Linked DNA regions of Homo sapiens: region 2 is linked to region 1. Evidence: promoter capture Hi-C in human tissues and cell types (Jung and others, 2019). All regions are on one chromosome and are shown on one strand. The core of a region is centred on a gene start or on the middle of the fragment in contact, and the rest is flanking DNA. Distances in the headings are between cores, read along the strand shown. Region 1 holds the start of KIAA1549. Region 2 overlaps UBN2 (ubinuclein 2).

Region 1 (4,710 bases), core at 311-2,810:
GGTGTGGATATGTCTATGGGCCAAGAGCGGGGGTGGGAGGCAGGGAAAGTGATGACTGTGACCTTGAGCAAGGCACTTCTCTGCCTTAGTTTCCTCTTTGGTAAGCAGAGTGGACCTGTTCCATGATCCCTGAAGTCCTCCCTGTGCTTCTATTGTACCATCCCCTCTAGGGCACTGGTTATAATTCTCACAGGTCCAAGGGACACCTTCAAATGTGTTCCAATTCCTCCCAGCCACTGAGTAGCCCTTTGGCCCTGCTCCCACGAGAAAGGAGGATTCGGAGCAGCGTTCACGGCTTTCTGGTTTTTGTTCTGTGTGCAGCAGCTCTCCACCCCTAGCTGCTCCTTCCACCTTTCCTTTTCCGCCTCAAAGTGGTCAAGTGCCTGTGCAGGGGCAATCGCTGGCCTGCAGTGTCAGCTCAGAGACGGTTTCCAGACCATCCTGTGTACAGGCTCAGGGTGGACAAATAAACATTTTGGAGAAGCAATAGGAATTAAATCATTTCTTCCACAACAAAACCCTTATGCTTCTTCATAAATCATGCCTCTTCATTCCATACTGATGAACAGTCACTAAATTGCATCTGTTATAAAAACAGCCCTTACTCCTTTCATGCCCAGACACTTAAGAATCAAAATATTTTCACACTCCATTGTACTAATAATGCCTTGCAGAAGTAATACCAATAGCTATTTCCCTGGAAAGATCCGTGGCCAGGGCGCTTTCCAAGAGGTTTTCTTTGAATGTTCTTTGTGTCCTGCTGTACGGGGGGACACGGCCGGCCTGCCCGCATCTGGGGGACGCTGGGCTTGTCCCGGTAATGCAATACTCTTTTAAAGCACACCTCGAATCCACCTCTTCGCCCCGACAATAAAGTATCTCAAAACATTCGATATGCCACATCATACAGCCTTGACAAAAAAGCACGCCGGTGCCTGCATTCTGCAGGAAAAACCAGGCACATTCTGAGATGAAGCCACCAGACCCGCTTCGGGTTCCATGGACAAGAGAACAGCTTTGCAGACCCCTTAGCAAGACCGGCCAGAAGCCGCTCGCTTGTTCGTTTTAATTATTTATTTCCCCCGTGCCTTTATTTGTTGGGCCCCAGAAGAATGGCAAAGCATCTTCCAGAAAGGACGGCGAGGGAGCTGGAGAATAAAAGAGGATGGGCGGGGAAAGCCGGGGTTTTGAAAACAGCAGCGATAAAGGCAGGCGGGGTCGCGGCCGCGTTCCGAGGGTCTCGGCGGAGCTTACCTGGGGCGCACGAGGCCGGCCGGGCCAGCAGCAGCAGCCAGAGGCCAGGAAGCAGCAGCCCCGGGCGGCGGCGGCGGGCGCAGCGGGCGGAAGGCCGTCGGCCGCTCGGCCCCGGGGCCAGCGCGACCCCGGCGCGGGGCTTCCCCTCCATGGCCGCGCCTCGGCGTCGGCGCCGCGCCCCCGGCATTCCCGGCCGGCGCCCCGGCCCGGCCTCGCGGCTCAGCGGCTCTCGGGTCCGGGAGGGGCGGCCGCTGCGGCTGCGGCTGGGACGGGGCGCCGCGCACCGGCGCGGAGGGAGGCCGGAGAGGCGGGGGCGGGCCGGGCCGGAACCGAGGACAGGGGCGCCAGCCGCACGCCCGCCTTGCCGCTCCGCCCCCTTCGGAGCCTCGGAGCCGCTGCCCGGCAACGCGCGGGCCCGGGCGCGGGACGGCGAGCACCCCCTCCCGGCCGGCCGGACGCCTGCCTGCCTGCCTGCCTGCCTGCCTGCGGGGCGGCCGGGGCAGCGTGCGCGGGGCTCGGCGCGGCAGAGGCGGCAAGGGCGGCGAGGCGGCGCGGCCCAGCCCTCCCCCAGGACCCGCCTTCCGGAGGGAGCGCGAGGGGCTCGGGGGGCCTGGGCCGGGCGGTGCCGCCCCGACCCGCACCCAACCCCGGGTCCCGCCGCGCGTTCCCCGGGGCGCCCGGATCAGGGTAGGCCGGCAAGCCGGGGGAGGGGTCCTCTCGCCTCCCTCGCTCCTCCTCTCCCGCCGACTCCTTGCGGGCAGCAGGTGTGTGGGGCGCCGCGCTCTCAGGACAGCCTCGGGGCCGCGGAGGGGACAAAGCCAGACAAAGTCGGGCTCCTGCGCTAGAGCTCAGCGTGCAAGGCAGGGGCGAGCAGAGCGCACGCAGCTCTCCCCCGCCTTCCTGCCTTAAGAAGGTGCGGCCACCTCTGCGGGTCTTCGGGAAGCGACCCTGCGCTCAGGGCCTGGGAGGCCCGCGGGACCCTGCACTTAGCAGGCCTTGAGCAGGCGGCTGCTGAAGCGAATGGGCGTGGAGCTGGGGAGACCCGCAAGGCCAGGCCGTTTTAGGGAAAGTGGCGCTCCTGAGAGGTGGAGAGAATGCCCAGAGAGCGTTTGAGGGTTGGAGTCCGCGGGGGGAATGAGGAACGGGAAGAAGGGAGTTGACATCTGTCAAGTACCTACTGTGTGCCAGGCACGTCACTCTGAAGACGCCCCGTGGCTTCAGGGTCTAGGGAGGAGGAATTGGAAGTTTTGAATCGTTGCATCCCACTGGCATTGTTGCATCAAGCAGATATTAACGGTGTGTGTGGGGGACACTATCTCGTGCAGAAAAACTATGGCAGACAGCGGAAAAGGTGAATCATTACACTGGCAGAGGGATCCTCGCGGCTATTCAGTCGGGTTCCCCTGCCAGGCCCAGCCCTTGAAGGGGCTGCCCAGCCTTGCAGCTCCAACTCTTCTGGACTCCTTGCCCTTGGCGAATAGTTCTTCCTAAGAATAGGACAGGGGCACTCTTCTGTAGGTACACACCTGGTCCTTACAGGTGGGTACTTGAAACCTGGTAGTTTCAAGGAAAATGAGAATAAAGGTTAAAAAAAGCTTTTGTTGATGTTCCTGGTGTTTTTACACGTTATTGTAACCCCCCATCATACAGCCCCTATGTTTATTACAGTAACTGCTCCTGTCTCCCAAAGAGGGTTCTGCGTGCACACCCAGGTAAGTACCTAAGAGAAACTGCCCAGATATGTCTGGTCCCAGGACACCATGGCCATAGATCTGGGACCTCTTATTCACACACTTATCTTTATTCTCTGAACTCTCTATAACAGCACATTTGACCACAAACCACTGCCTTCGTGCAACTCTTGAATGGTCTTGTCCTGTTGTGTTGTTTTATCTTTTATGAATTTATGCTTTGCACACACAGCCCCCACCCCACCTCCAATAAATTAATATGAAATTCAAATATGGTGCTATCCTGCTTAGGATTTCTCATAGCCCCAGTAAGCCCTCAGTAGACAATCGTTGGTTTGAGCCAGAGCATGCATTCCGCCCGTGAAGAGGTTCCATCTTCAGATTTGGCCTCAGCCTCCTGCAAGCTGCCATCTACACTAGACCCGTTGGTGTCAGAGAAAAAAGCCTCCCTCGGCCATGCGCGGTGGCTCACGCCTATAATCCCAGCACTTTGGGAGGCCAAGGCAGGCAGATCACCTGAGGTCAGGAGTTCAAGACCAGCCTGGCCAACATGGCAAACCCCGTCTCTAATAAAAACACAGAAAAATTTACCCAGGCATGGTGGCACGTGCTTGTAATCCCAGCTACTCAGGAGGCTGAGGCAGGAGGATCACTTGAACCCAGGAGGCGGAGGTTACAGTAAACCAAGATCACGCCACTGCACTCCAGCCTGGGTGCCACAGCAAGACTCCATCTCAAAAAAAAAAAAAAAAAAAAAAGGAAAAGAAAAAAGAAAGGAGTCTCCTTCTCCATTCTCTGCAAACTCAAAGACAATAGTGTTTGCCCTGCCATTAAGAGATTGATCAGCTGGAAGTAAAAATAAAAATTGGAACCCTGAGATACTAGAAATGACTCATGGACACCAAAGTGTCCGTGGAAAGTGAGGTCCCTAGGGTCCCTTAGTCTCCCAGCTCTGAAGGCATAAAACAAAATCTTACCTCTGTTAGGATTTAAGGCATTCTGCCTCCATGTCTGGGAAAATGTCTACCAGGCTCTGACAGTCCAGCTGGTAGGTGGTGTTACTCTGCAGACTCAGAGGGGATGAGTGGTCCTTGGAGGTAGGGGAGTGTGTGCAAATGTGTGTGTGTGTGTAAGATTTTAAAATCGATTTTAGAGATCATCTCATCCAATTCTCATAGATAAAGAAACAAGCCAGAGAGGTTAGTTTATTTCCATAAGGCTCAACTCCAACTGGAATTGTCGTCTCCAGTTAAACCACACACCCTCCAGGGGAGGGGGAAAATTAACCTGGGTCCTCGATAGGCTTACAATCTGGTTTGGAGACAGGGAGAGGTAGGCTCAGTACTATCCTTAGACCTAGACGAAGCGGGCCCCACTCTGGCCTTCTCAAACTGCACCTCTCTCCTCAGGACAGAGTCTGTGAAGCCCAGGAAGCACCCTCACCAGCAGCCCATCTTCCCATGCTCAGGTGCCCAGGACCCCAGAATCCTGCCCATTTCACCCCAGGCTCATCTTCAGGCCTATGTGGCCTCTTCCTCAAGTCCATTCTCCCAAGGCTGCACCAAGGGTGTGTCTGGTCCCACGGGGTAGTTGTTTGCTAGGGAGTGGCAAAACTTACGCAGGAGGCATCTCTAAAGATGCGCACATGAAACCTATAGGAATGAAGCAGAGGACCAGGGATGGGAAGAGAAGATCGGGCATGGCCCATATTCACATGGCAACCTGGCTGCGATGTTCTGCTCACAACTGCAGGAAGTCTGCGAAT
Region 2 (5,079 bases), core at 2,325-4,824, 320 kb after region 1:
ATGCAGTTTATATATAGTAAGTCAAATTATTGGACACTGGGGTTTTATATACAGTTTTTAAGCTATCTATACCACATTTCCATCTTAATGAAATTTTTAAGAGGAAGTCAGTTGTGTTGGGTTATGTGCATACACATACATTAACATAAGTAAATTTTCAAAAACGTGCTCTAGTTTTAGAAGGCCTTCGAAGTCAGGTGCTGTGCCTGCATTACATAAATCAGTTTTCATTTTTGAACTAAAAGGGCTCAAATCTGGATTTAAAGATGACTGACAAGTCTGTTTTCCTCTCAGATTTACTAAAGGGTTTACAGCCAGGAGGAGCTCAGCATGCAGCAACGCTTTCCCACTCACCTCTGCCTGCACACTTACAGCAAGCATTTCACGGTGAGAACGCCACCTCCTTCATCTCTTTCTTATTTGTATAGGCTTATAGATATGGATTATACTTTTCTGAAAACAATGTGAATGGAATGACAAAGGTTGGAAAATGCAAATTTTCATAGACTGAATCCTCATTCCTCATTAGCAACAGATTCCTTTTAAGAGGAAGGAAATAGGTAGATGAGATCTGTAACATATAAAAAGAGCCTTTTTGAAGGTGTTTATTATGTGGAAATGACGACTAATCAGAGGATTCATAAGATAGTTAAAAGTTATGTACAGTAATGATAGTAGTTTACATTTATTGAAAGCTTACTAAATGCCCCAGTCTTGTGACAGCTTACGTGGATTAGCTAACTTAATCCTTACAGCAAGCCCCTGAATGATAGATGACGATCTCCATTTTACCAATCACGAAACTGAATCAGAGAGCTAAGCAACTTGCCCAAGATAATACACAACTTGCCCAGATAACAAATGCTTGATCTGAGATACAAACCCAGGAAGTCTGACTCCATGGCCTGTATTCTTAGTGATTAAATGTCTTGGCATTTTAGCGGAGATGAAATTAATATGATCCTGCCAGGCACAGTGGCTCACTCCTGTAATCCCAGCACTTTGGGAGGCCAGGGTGGGCAGGTCACCTGAGGTTGGGAGTTTGAGACCAGCCTGGCCAATATGGTGAAACCCCGTCTCTATTAAAAATACAAAAGTTAGCCAGGCCTGATGGCGCATGCCTGTAGTCCCAGCTACTTGGGAGGCTGGGGCAGAAGATTTGCTTGAACCCAGGAGGTGGAGGTTGCGGTGAGCCGAGATCACGCCACTGCACTCCAGCCTGTGCAACAGAGTAAGACTCCGTCTCAAAAAAAAAATTAATATGATCCAAGCTGTATGCATTATGTCCTTGTAGGCAGCCAGATCGCTCTGAAATCTGACATTAGGCAGTCAGATTAGGCAATGTGCATAACACACTGGGCTCCAGCTTCTCGTTTTCCCCAGCAGTCTACCTCCATAGACACTGATATTATTCTGAAGCCCATTTTCAGGATCTTTTGAGCAGAAATAACTGCTTAGCTGCCCTCTTAACTTTGGAAGTTGACTAGGCCTCACTTTTTTTTTTTTTTTTGGCCACTGCATTAAAAATGACCTTTGAACCAGTTTACCATTAACCACAGTGCAGAGATGGGAACTGAGGGGCAATCTTGAGGCAACAGATTGCCATTAATCCTCTGAAAGACCTAAGTGGTGAGCTGTCTCAGTCTTAACCTTGAGAATGAGTATAAAACCACAGTTGTGTAAAATGGGTAACACAGAGTCGTGGCACAAATGTCAGCAATCCCGATCTTCCTGAACTCTGACTAGTTTAAATATCTAAAGAGAATTTCCCTGTGACTAAAGCATGTCCCCCCCTGGGTGTAGACAGCTGCTTGGTATAATGAATCCAGCTGAGGGTAGTGTACTCATGGGCAGATTGGCATGAATGTGGCCACCTGCAAGGAATTAAACAAGCAGGATTCTTGTGGCTCAAAAAGACCCCAGTGTTCGCTCTTACACGAACTATCAAATTTATCTGTGCAGCACTGCTATTCCGAGGGGAGAAAGGAAATATGACTGTCAGTATTTTCCAAATAACTAAAGTTAAAAAGTTTAAAATTTTTCAACCAGGCATGGTAGCTCATGCCTGTAATCCCAGCATTTTGGGAGGCCAAGGCAGGCGGATGGCTTGAGTCCAGGAGTTCGAGACCAACCTGGTCAACATGGTGAAACACTATCTCTACAAAAAATACAGAAAATTTTCTGGACATGGTGCTGTGCACCTGTAGTCCCAGCTACCCAGGAGGCTGAGGTGGGAGGATCACCTACACCTGGGAGGTTGAGGCTGCAGTGAGCTCTGATTGTGCCACCGCACTCCAGTCTGGGTGACAGAGTGAGAGTCTGTCCCCCCCAAAAAAAAAAGTTTAAAATTTTTCCTTTAAGAAACATTTTAAAGTGTAAGTCACTGAACTTGAGGATCAGACTTGGATTTTTGAATTCCAGAACTGCCAGTTTGAGTAGGCTTGTTTGACCATCACTTTCTCTTGCTTGTAAACTGGAGACAACAAATGTTTTTTAATGACTTCATATGAGAATCTAATAAAAAATAATTGATTTAAAGCTTCTAGCTTGGCACCTGGTGCATAGTAAGAGCTCAGTTAATGTTGATTAATTTTATTTAGTCTAAAACAAAGGTCAGTAAAATTTTTCTATAAAGGGCCAAATAGTAAATATGTTAGGCTTTGCAGGTCATATGGTCTCTGTCACCACTACTCAACTGACCATTGTAGTGAAAAACAGCCATAAGGAGTATTTAAACACATGAGTATGACTGTAAATAAAACTTCATGTGCAAAAGCAGGCAGGGAATCAGATTTGGCCTATGGGCTGTAGTTTGCCAAACCCTGGTCAAATTTGTTCCTTTTCACCTGTGTATTTCTGCTATTCATGCCTCTTCCCTCAGAGTAAAAGGTTTCCTTCTCCTGTCCTTTGCTGTCAGGCATGGGTTGTCTTTGAGGCCTCATTTTTCTTGCTAAGGCCATGACCTGTTGGAGACTTTCTCCATATTCTGTTGGCTTTCCAAGTCATTGGGCCTTACCCTTGCCCTGGTATCCCCCTTTCCTCTCCTCCTGTCCAGTTTTTGTAGGTAATTTAGTTGAGGCTTAAATGAAGTAATCAACATTTTTTCTGCAAGCATTTAAACAGCAGTATGTAAAAATAGAAATTATTTTGAGCTGGTGTGGTGGCACACACCTGTAGTCCCACTACTTAGAAGGCTAAGGCAGGAGGGTCTCTTGAGCCCAGGAATTTGAGGCTATAGTGTGCTATGATCGCACCTGTGCATAGCCAGTGTACTCCAGCCTGGAAAACATAGCAAGACTCTCTCTTAAAAAAAGAAAGAGCCAGGCGTGGTGGCTCATGCCTGTAATCCCAGCACTTTGGGAGGTTGAGGCAGGGTGGATCATGAGGTCAGGAGTTTGAGACCACCCTGACCAACATGGTGAAACCCTGTCTCTACTAAAAATACAAAAATTAGCCGGGCATGGTGGTGTGCGCCTGTAATCCCAGCTACTCGGGAGGCTGAGACAGGAGAATTGCTTGAACCTGGGAGGCAGAGGTTGCAGTGAGCTGAGATCGCGCCATTGCACTCCAGCCTGGGCGACAGAGCGAGACTCCGTCTCAAAAAAAAAAAAAAAAAAGGAAAGAGCCTTGTCCCAGTAGCAGACTTTCCTGTCACTTAAAGCTAGGTTAGAATGAGCACACACTCAGCTGGATGTTTTTCACTACAGATGAAAAGTTTGCTACGTTTGTTTACACAAATAATCAGGAATTATGAAATGCTGTGTCCTGGCAAGAAATTTTATTTCACTTACAAAAAAAAAAAAATGAAATTGACCTGTCTTCCAAAGGAGTTGAAAGATGTAGTGGGTCCCTCGGAGGTAGGAATTGTGTCTTCTGGTTCCTTTATAACCCTCTCACAGCATTTGACACAATTGGCTGGGACGTAAATGATAAATACTTGTTGAAATCATATTTAAAAAACACTGAAAACCACAGTCATTTGAGAGAAGAGGATCATTGTTGTTGAGTTTTTATCTCCATGATGTTTTATCAACCTCTATAATGCTATATGGCATGCAAGATATTAAAAGTGATATCTTTTCAGAGATGTCATCCACAAAAGATAAAAGTTAATTGTTGTTTTTGCTTTGTTTTTGTTAGCTGGTTTTTGTAACATATGGACCCATACCAATTTAACGTCTCTTTTTCTCAGATGGAGGCCAAAGTAAAGGGGACACTAAATTACCACGGAAATCTCAGTGACTGCCCAGCAAGCAAAGGAGACGAAATGTTTAGTTGACTGATGGAATCTACCTGATGGGAAAGTACTTATGTGGTCATAGGGCTGCTGTTTCTGTCGATGTTTACATTCTCTCGTCCCAAGCACTGTGGTGAGGAGGAAAAAGAAAAGAAAACATTACTTGAGCAAAGCCAGGTGCAGGAGGAAGAAATGCTTTTGTGCAAAGTTAGTGACCTTTGGTCTCTTCTAAAGAATGACAGAGTTACCGTATTAACAGACTTGAAAGAGACTCAGTTGTCAAACCCACAGAAATACAAATTTGATTTTTCCCGGGGGAGGAAGAAGGAAGTGAAGAGAATTTGGGTAAACTCCATCCATCCTGGGGGTTGGATCTGAACACTTACAGACATAATTGGTAATAAAAGGCATTAAAAACTGGAATTAGGCCAGTTTGTCAGGAATAATGATCATGTCTATTTGAATGGACTGTGTAGCAGATTTGCCACAAAAAGAAATAATAATGATTCTATCTCCGATAGACAGTAGCTGCATAGCACACCCTCGAAAATCCTGAACAAACTTGAATCTCCTCCAGTGTGTAGCAACTTCCCTCAATCAGTGGACTAAAGATCCTTCAGGAAAGTTATTTTAGCACAGTGATATATATTATTAAATCATCTAGATTTTTAAAAATCAGGAAGTTGAGCCTGTTGCTCTTAAGAGATGAAACCTAGATGTCCCCTTTTTGTAAAAGGGTCAATTTCATCTTCCGTTCAGAAGCAGGTACTTAACTCTTTTCTTCAGGTGATTTGTGCATCTAGTATTGACTGGTTAATTCTTATTTCCATTCTTGATGTTAA

The links. The method cuts DNA at HindIII sites, captures the fragments that hold promoters and counts their contacts. A contact is called where the count stands out against the background at its distance.
Region 2: a fragment that was not itself captured here is called in contact with the fragment with the promoter of KIAA1549 in region 1 in 1 of the 25 tissues and cell types used here (spleen).

Annotation. Positions count from the first base shown.
Region 1 is chr7:138,979,829-138,984,538 of GRCh38, forward strand. It overlaps KIAA1549, which reads right to left and starts at 1,561. Exons shown (of 20, transcript NM_001164665.2): 1 at 1,255-1,561. The coding sequence starts at 1,441. RefSeq lists silencers at 175-469, 1,309-1,438, 1,479-1,858, 1,879-2,008 and enhancers at 480-1,366, 1,989-2,338. The HindIII fragment of the contact is 8,726 bases long and covers 1-4,464 here.
Region 2 is chr7:139,293,595-139,298,673 of GRCh38, forward strand. UBN2 (ubinuclein 2) reads left to right here. Exons shown (of 18, transcript NM_173569.4): 17 at 295-387; 18 at 4,193-5,079. The coding sequence ends at 4,242. Among named protein-coding and RNA genes, the nearest start is that of TRR-CCT4-1, 45 kb to the right of the region's middle. RefSeq lists a silencer at 980-1,148. The HindIII fragment of the contact is 3,914 bases long and covers 1,618-5,079 here.